3 separate regions of the Homo sapiens genome follow, and regions 1 and 3 are each linked to region 2. The links are contacts of gene promoters, found by promoter capture Hi-C in blood cells and fetal thymus (Javierre and others, 2016). All regions are on one chromosome and are shown on one strand. The core of a region is centred on a gene start or on the middle of the fragment in contact, and the rest is flanking DNA. Distances in the headings are between cores, read along the strand shown. Region 1 overlaps PTPRE (protein tyrosine phosphatase receptor type E). Region 2 holds the start of CLRN3 (clarin 3). Region 3 overlaps PTPRE (protein tyrosine phosphatase receptor type E).

Region 1 (2,777 bases), core at 135-2,634, 100 kb after region 2:
TGAGGGGATGAACAGGCGTGGAAGAAGGGGGAGTAGGGAGAAGACAGTTGTATCTTTGCATTCTTCACAGAGCCTGGGGCAGCACTTAGCACAAACAGGGCTGGCTACTTAAAACCCGGGGTCACTCGTTCAAAAGGCAGGAAAAAAAGCTTTTTCCTTTCTTCGTGTTCTCTCTCTGGATCTTTCATAGTGGTGTGTGTGTGTGTGTGTGCGTGTGTGTGTGTGACCTTCTATTTAATGTCACATTCCCCCAGGCACTAGGATACTCTCACTGCCTTCAACTGGGCAGGTAGAAGGCATCCATCCAGCCCCCATCCTCCCTGTTGAGGAGTTGGGGGAGTCTCAGTTGCTGGTCGGGGCAGGAAGTGGACAGTCAAGAACCCAGCGGGATGGAGCAGAAGGTGGGCCAGGTGTGAGTTGAGGGGTCATACCCCGGCACATGTCCCATTGCCCCACCAGAGTTCCCTCACAAAACACAAGTTCAGAGATAAAATTCTTATGACATATGAAGGTAGCAGTTACAGAGCATTAAACCCCAAGCATGAGGGGCTCTCTTCTGAGTGAGGGCCTGAGCACTGCTCTGCTCTCGTGTTCCCGAAGCCCACCCTGAGTACGAGAAGTGAGGGTCAGAGCCCTGCAGGGTCCTGCCCATGGTGACTGGCGAAGGACTTTCTTTTCCGGGGGAGCACAGCCAGAGCTCTCTTCTCTGATTCCATCATTAGTTTCTGGAAAGGCCTTCCCTGCCCACTCTATCTGATGTTACCTATCCAACTTCCAGCCCCAAGTTACTTTCTGTACCCCCGTTTTACTTTATATTGTCATTAAAGCACTTACCAGTATTTGGAACTGTGGTATTTACCCATTTTCTCACCCGCAAGAACGCAGGCCCCATAGGATAGGGATCCCATCCCTCTGTCCCCTTGCACAAGTGCTGGCATGAGAGAGGCACCCAGTGAATTTTAGGTGCATGAATGAATAGTCTTTACGTGACTTTGTATCCTTTTAGGAGCAAGCTGGATATAAATAAATACATGAAGTCAACTAACACCTCCAAGTGGCTCAGTCAATTTTCAGTGATTTTTCTCTGTCCAACACCAGACTGGCTTCAGTGATTTCTTTCACTGATGTGGCCACATTTGTTTTGTTTTATTTTGTGGCCATGCAGCCCGATGTCGCAGGGGCTGTTGGTCCTCCTGACTCCCTGCTGGAACGTAAGGGAGAGCCTCATTCCAGGTCTGCACTGGCCCCAAACTGGGCCAAGACTGCACATTTCAGTTCACTTTGGGTTTCTGATAGCAGTTCTCTCCCCAGCCCCCATCCCTAGGATTCCTAAGAGCTAAGGGATGTACCCACCAATCCAAGCCACCTACTAGCATTGAACTTCTGTGTCTTGAAAAGGGATTTTGTTTTGAACCAGTCACTGGGAGATGCGTTCTAAGGTGAGGGCTTCCGGGTCAATAAACCTGTAGGTGTCGCCCACCAAAAAAAGTAAATCTGACCTCAGCCCAGTCCCATGGTGGTGCCTATTCCATCAGGGCAGAGAGTCAGCAGCTGGCAAGAGAGGCTCAACCCCCACCACTCCTGAGAGCCAGGAGGCCCTGGCATTCAAACTCAGGCTTCACAGATCCACACATCTTTGTTCTCAGAGAGGAGAACCCAAAGTGTGTCTCCCAGTGAGTTCTGAGGATGAGGGAATTATGAAAGGCACCGTGTCCACTTGTGAGATAAACCGACCCACCTGGTTCCTCATAGTGGGAGGTGGCTCAAGTGTCAAGTGGCCCATGCTACCTGGTCTTCTTGGTTTTCTTCCATCCGCGTCCCTGGAGATGGTTATGTGCTTTGCTTCTTACTAAATGTATCCAGAAGCCAAGGCAAGCTAGGAGGAGGAGTGGGATCTGGATCTGCAGATCCAGAATAGCACCGCAAAATTACCCAGCTGGGGCTTAGCTGACTGTCCAGACCCTGACGGTGGGGTTTAGAATTGGATAGCATCCAAGCCTTTCTGTGATTTCATCAGCACCATCATGCAATAGGTTGTTTAAACACCGATATGAAAACCTGTTTTCCAACGATGCTGCAACATTTGATTAATTCTTCTGGATGGGATATCAAGGTGGCTAAAGCAAGCATTGCTTGCAGTTATGATGAATTTGCTGAGTGTCAGAGGAAAATTGTCAGGCCACAAACTAATCATTCTTAGGTGCCTCATTTAGCATTCTGTCCATGTTTATACCAACTCTACACGAGCACACACACACACACACACACACACACACACACGCACGCAAAGTATTGGAGACCACCTTGAACTAAATGGATTTGACCTCTATTTGTAAAGGGTGCATTAGCGTGAAATGGAGGGGGGCTTTCTTTGAGGGTTCAGCAAGCCATCTAGCCTACATGCTGCTGTCTTAGATGCCAGCCTTGGTCTTAAAGAGCCTGGTTTCTAAGGGAAAATTCATTTCATGGACATCTTGTTGCCAGGAATCAGTGTGATTCACTTTTCATTTCAGGATGATGTTGAGTCCTCTGTGTTATTCCCAGTGTGGACGTGGAGTAGTGACTGATGTCTAATTATTTGGAAGGGAGAGAGCTTCTCTAAGAAGGACATGCAATGTCAGAAGCTTCCGTTGCTTGGCAACACGTAACTTTACCTATGTTTCACCAAAGGCAGTTTAAAGGGCTAAAGATGCCCATTCAGGCAATAGTAGATTACAAGGAAGATCTCGAAAGCTGGCCCGTCAAAATCGCTTTCCACCATAGAAATAAACACCTAA
Region 2 (2,700 bases), core at 148-2,647:
GGAGATGCTGCTTTTGCTAACATCTAAATGACAAATGTATAACTTGGGAACATAACCAGGTTGCTTTGGATTTAAGAAAATAGTTTCATTAACAAAGTCATAAACACACTAGAGCTAGAACTTAGAGCTAGTGTCTAGGACTCAAACTTCTTCATGCATTACACAAGGACTAAACATTACATGTGTATAAGGTAGAAAATGATGCATATTTATAAGTCAAAAGGTAATGACTGTATGATACCCAATAATGCCTGTATAATACTTGCATACAACATTGTTCAAAACAAAGTCCACTTAATGTGTTACATAATTTACAAATGTTTTTAAATTTAGAAAACATGAAGGTAGGTTATCAAACCTCAAAAGTCAAATAAGTAGCTAAATCAACTTATTATTCTCAATGAACTTTTAATTTTACTTCCATGGAGAGGAGGGCATTATTATATAAGAAATCAGAAAAAAAAATGTTTAGGAATTCCTATCAAATATACAATTAATAAATTAATGGAAATTTAATATAATTTCCAACGATTAGATTTTTTGGAGGTAAATTAAAATCAGTTAAAGAAATGAACTTGAGAAATAGAGATAATAAATTTTCCATTTTACTCTTTCCTGCATAGATGCCACTTGTGAAGTTCTAGACAGAGGTTGTGGCTCCAGCTAAAAACCCAGTCAATACAGTTAAAACATGTGTTCCTACTGGCTATTCAATGCCGTATTGCTGCCACATATTTTTACTTATTTACTTGTCAGTCAACTTGGTAGGTATTATTTAAATACAGCCACTGCTAGAATGATATAGACTATTGTATTAATAGACACAAGGAGAACCGAGGAAGCTCAAATAATGACATGGCAAATTTCCAAAATTATGAGTTAAGCTTGTACCTTCAGCCTAACCCAAAACTTACAAAGAAATTATTTTTGAATGGTTATTTGGCCCAAATATAGAATGACATAAACCTTAATTCAATCTCACTATATTCATTCAAATTAGTTTATCATTTACCTGCAAACTTTTTCTTTGGTTCTGCAAGTCCGTGACTCAATTCTTCACTACTCTCCCCACGAAAAAGTCCGTAAGTGATGAAAATGCTCCCATTTGAAGCAGAGTCTCTAACAGCAATTGTACTGGTGATCCATGCTTGTGTCCCAAGAATAGAGCAAATTACAATGAAGGACCCAAGGCTGGTGAAAAAGCTTGATAAGAACATCAATGTCTTCTTTGTGGTAGGCATTTTCACAGGAAAATAAGTTCTCTAGGACAAAAAAAGGAATATCTTCTTATAACACTTTTGAACCTTATCTTTTGAAGTCTGGTATTTAGAAATGGAGTCTAACACTTTATTGTCAAATATAAAATCTCACTCTTCCTGAGGAAGGGTTATGCTAATGGACATTGAACTCTGAACATGGCCATAAAATTAACAGTAGCTGAACTTTGGTCTGGAGTAAGAGGCTGCTATGGTTACAGCCAACCAGCATGAACAAGGGGTGGGCATGGTCTTCCCAGGGACTTCCTCAATCATGCAATTAATTTATAATCCTTGGCCAAGTGTCATGGAAGCAAGTTTAGCCTACCATATCATGACAGGAGTAGAATTCCTAAATAATAGGGCGTGGAGGATCTGTATTCCCAAAGCGTTGCTGAGTCTAGCAGACAACAACATGAAACCCCAACTCCTCCAAGAATTATTGGAAATATGTAAACATATACTTCACTATTGTGGATATTTATGTTGCTTCAATTTCACAATTATGATTGAGAAAGAACAACACCCAAATATCTTTAGGCATAAACCTTTGTTCATATCTCCACTTGCTTCCTTGCTTAAACTTCTAGAAGTTTGACGAAGTCTGTGGATTTTTCTGAAGTTTTTGCTATGCATTGCTCAGTTTCTTTACTCATTAGTGATTTGACTCTTATAATTGTTCCAAGAGGAATCCTAAGGAGGGTAAACCTTTGTCAAATGTACTGTGGAGTGGAAAGAGAAAAGCTTACACCTCCTTATGTTTTATACCTCTCTATTTTTAGACTTTATCAGAGAGGTTTGGCTTTCAAATTTCCTCTTTCAAATTGGATCATATTTGCGTATTATTTAAATTATATCTTGAGAAGTTTCATCTTTATTACTTTTTAGTACTCTGATAGAGATGGTTCTGAACATTCTTGTTTTTGGTCGTTATAGCTGTATCCACTCTGTTGAATGGTAAATAGTTTATAAATGGTCATTTCTGGACTTTCGAAAAACTCTCCCATTTGGCGAAAAGATCATTTCTTGAGATGATAAATAGACATTCATAGCATGTTTTCCATACCGCTTTTTACTGTATTCTTTGATTATTTAGTAATATAATATTAAGTTGGTGCAAATGTAATTGCAGTTTTTGCCATTAAAAGTTACATTTACTTTTAATGGCAAAAAAACGCAATTACTTCATCCTCTACTTTTCTTCATTAACACCTAACTTATTTGTGGAACTAGCTGATCATCTGTCTTTTCCGTTATTGTAACTAGATGACATGCTCCGGGAGGTGGACATGTTTGTTTTGTGTACCACTGGATTCCAGGGAACTCTCAAAGAGCCTGGCCCAGAGAAGACACTCAGCAAACATTTGTTCAATAAATTATTGGAGATACGTACACACATACTCTACTACTGTGGACACTTATGTTGTTTCTATCTTAAAATTAT
Region 3 (2,700 bases), core at 135-2,634, 82 kb after region 2:
TGCATTTTATAGGGATTCTTATTTATGAACTAGTTTAAATGGTTCAGATCAGCCAGTTGTTGTGGGGTGGAGGATCATTAAAACAATAATATTTACAAATGTTTCAGCAAAGTGGCTAGTCGATTGGCAGATTTTTCATTCATCAGCTTTCCTAATTTTCAGAATCTTCCTGAGGAATATCTAACAAACGTCTCTGCTCTGAGTACCATATTCCTGAAAAAAAAAAATTGATCTGTTTTCAGGATGGGTCTCCCCTTTTCTCAGGCTAATATATTTTCTTAGTCTCTCGCTAATATCCTCTGCATGCCTGTGAAGGATGCATCATTTTCTGATAGCTCTGCGCCTGAACGCCACCTCTGTCGATGGCAACGCTTCACCCAGGCCCCCAAGCCAAGCCCACGGTCACGCTTAGCTTCCTTCCCTTTTCCCCACTTCTCACATGCCTCCAAAGCTTGTGAGCTCTGCTTCCTCTATTGTTAAATGGCTGCCCCCTCCCCGGCCGCCCACCACTGCCCTTGAGAACACCTGTTCATCCTGCATCTGGACCACAGGTGTGGCCTCATTAGTCAGGAATCCACAGTCCACACTTAGCATGGTCCTGCCCCTTATTCTTCTCTGCAGCCATCACAGTGACCTACTTTGCAGAGAGCAGAATGGGAATGCCCAGGCTTGCAGACTTCTGCAGCCCCCTTGTGGCTTCAGCCCAAAGCCAAAGGTCTCTGCAGCATTCCGGGATCTGCCCACCACACATCCCAGGCTCACAGCAGTGATTTATTGGGTCCAGGCCTTATACTGAGTTCTGCGTCCGGTCCTTACCTCCTTTACTAACCCAGCAGGAAATTTTATTATCTCTATTTCGCAGATGAAGAAACTTAGGCTTAAAACTGTTGTGACTTGTTCCAAGGTCAAAGCCAGGATCCAACTTATTTGCCATTTCCAGAATGTTCCATACACTCTCTGGCTTCCCGGTTTTTGTTTATGTGTTCTTCCTGGGAATTTTCTTCTTGAGAAAGATGACCTAACTTTAGCCAAACACAGGTTAGTGTTCTGCTTCCATCTTTCATGGCCCCTGGGCTTGCCACGACCTAGCACTGCTCACCCCTGCATTTCAACGATCTGTTTATAAGCCTGTCCTCTGGACTTCTTTTAGGGTAAGGAGGCTGAGGTTCTGTCCATGTATTTTTTTTAATCTCTAAATCCTAAGCAATTGGCACAGAAATAGCACATAGTAGATGCTCACTAATGTTAAATGGCTGGTTTAGCATATTGATGTACTCATTCAACTAGTATTTTATGAGTTTCTGGTACATGCACAGAACTTTTCATATACTGAAGATGTTCAAGCTAGAGATAGCAGGTTTTCTATTCAGAAATCACCAAATTAGCCACAGATGCTCTGTCTTTGGGGAGGGTCTGCACCTGCCTTCGTCATCTGTAAAATGTGGATCATACCTCCCCACCTCATAGGGCAGCTGAAATGGCAGCAAATATCCTTAATGTTAATCCAGAGTCCTACTGTACTGTGTTGTTGTAGAGACGTGAAGACACATAAAGATGGAAGGGGCGGGCGGGGAACAGCTAGGCACCAGGAGGGATACAACCAGGGCAGCCCAGAGGGCTCAGAAAAGATGTCAAGGAGAGAGTAGGACTTGACCTACTGGATCACCTGGCGTCTAGTGGGTTTGGGTGAGACTGAGGCTTTGTGGGACAGGGAGCAGCATGAGGGAAGCAGGGGGACTGTGCTGTGTTGGAGCCCCGTGAGACACGGTTGTGTGAGTGAGCGGCCTCTAGAAGGTGGATCACCGTGGTGTCTGCCCGACTTGATGCTCTTCCTGTGAGCTTCCAAACCTGTTAAGCAATCCAGAGGGCTGTTTACCAACACACGCTACTCTTCTTATCCGTGCCAATCTCATCAGCAAACATGCTATTTCCCTTATTCGTGAATAATAATTATTATTATTTCATAATAAAATGATCTTTCTGAATAATTATTTAATGCCAGAGCTCATCCATTCTGCCTTAGTGAATATTGCTTTGCCCTGGCCTCTGGCCACAGGTTACCGTGGACAGCCGAGTGTCAAGATCATCACCAACCAGGCCCTTCACACACATGCTTAGCCTCATCGCAGACCTAGGGTCACCTGGTGAAAGGCAGGTGTGTTTCCAATTGGCACGCTGAAAAAGAAAACCTGAAAACACTGATTTAACATATCTGAGTATTAGAGATCAATCATTTTCTCTGGGGCTCACTGAACAGGAATTAGCTCAAGAAAAACATCTTTAGCGTGTTCAGTTACCATTAGCGTCAGGCACCCAGCAAGCTTGTCCTGAATACATTTCAGAGTCCGAGCCCAATTGGAGGAGCGAGGCAGGTAGAGGGGAGTAAAACAGGCCTTGTTTTCGAGGACTGCTGCTCTGAAGTCCCACTGCACTACCCAGTGTGGGGAGTCCTTGTGGCAAGCTACCCTATATCTCTGAGCCTCAGTTCCCCCTCTGCAAAGTGGGTCTAATAACAAACTCCTCATATGAGTATTGAGAGGATGCAGTGATCCCTGTTGGGTGCTTGGCGGGGAGTCTGGCATGAAGTTCCTGTCCTTACAGTGGCTGTTTCTTCTGCAAGGGTCTTCTCTTGGTGGCAGTTAACACCGTCCATCCCTGTCCTCAAACACTAGATCCCCTGCCAAGAAGCTACTCATAGGG

Evidence for each region. Contacts are between HindIII fragments. The CHiCAGO score rates a contact against its expected background, and 5 or more counts as called.
Region 1: a contact is called between a fragment that was not itself captured here and the fragment with the promoter of CLRN3 in region 2, in 4 of 17 cell types (monocytes, M0 macrophages, neutrophils and 1 more). The highest score is 10.8, in monocytes.
Region 3: a fragment that was not itself captured here is called in contact with the fragment with the promoter of CLRN3 in region 2 in 1 of 17 cell types (monocytes); the score reaches 8.4 in monocytes.

Annotation. Positions count from the first base shown.
Region 1 is chr10:127,993,577-127,996,353 of GRCh38, forward strand. All of the region lies in intron 2 of PTPRE (protein tyrosine phosphatase receptor type E), which reads left to right. Among named protein-coding and RNA genes, the nearest start is that of PTPRE-AS1, 61 kb to the left of the region's middle. The HindIII fragment of the contact is 2,475 bases long and covers 148-2,622 here.
Region 2 is chr10:127,891,544-127,894,243 of GRCh38, forward strand. CLRN3 (clarin 3) reads right to left here and starts at 1,398. Exons shown (of 3, transcript NM_152311.5): 1 at 1,013-1,398. The coding sequence starts at 1,241. The HindIII fragment of the contact is 797 bases long and covers 1,202-1,998 here.
Region 3 is chr10:127,973,435-127,976,134 of GRCh38, forward strand. All of the region lies in intron 1 of PTPRE (protein tyrosine phosphatase receptor type E), which reads left to right. Among named protein-coding and RNA genes, the nearest start is that of PTPRE-AS1, 41 kb to the left of the region's middle. The HindIII fragment of the contact is 1,870 bases long and covers 450-2,319 here.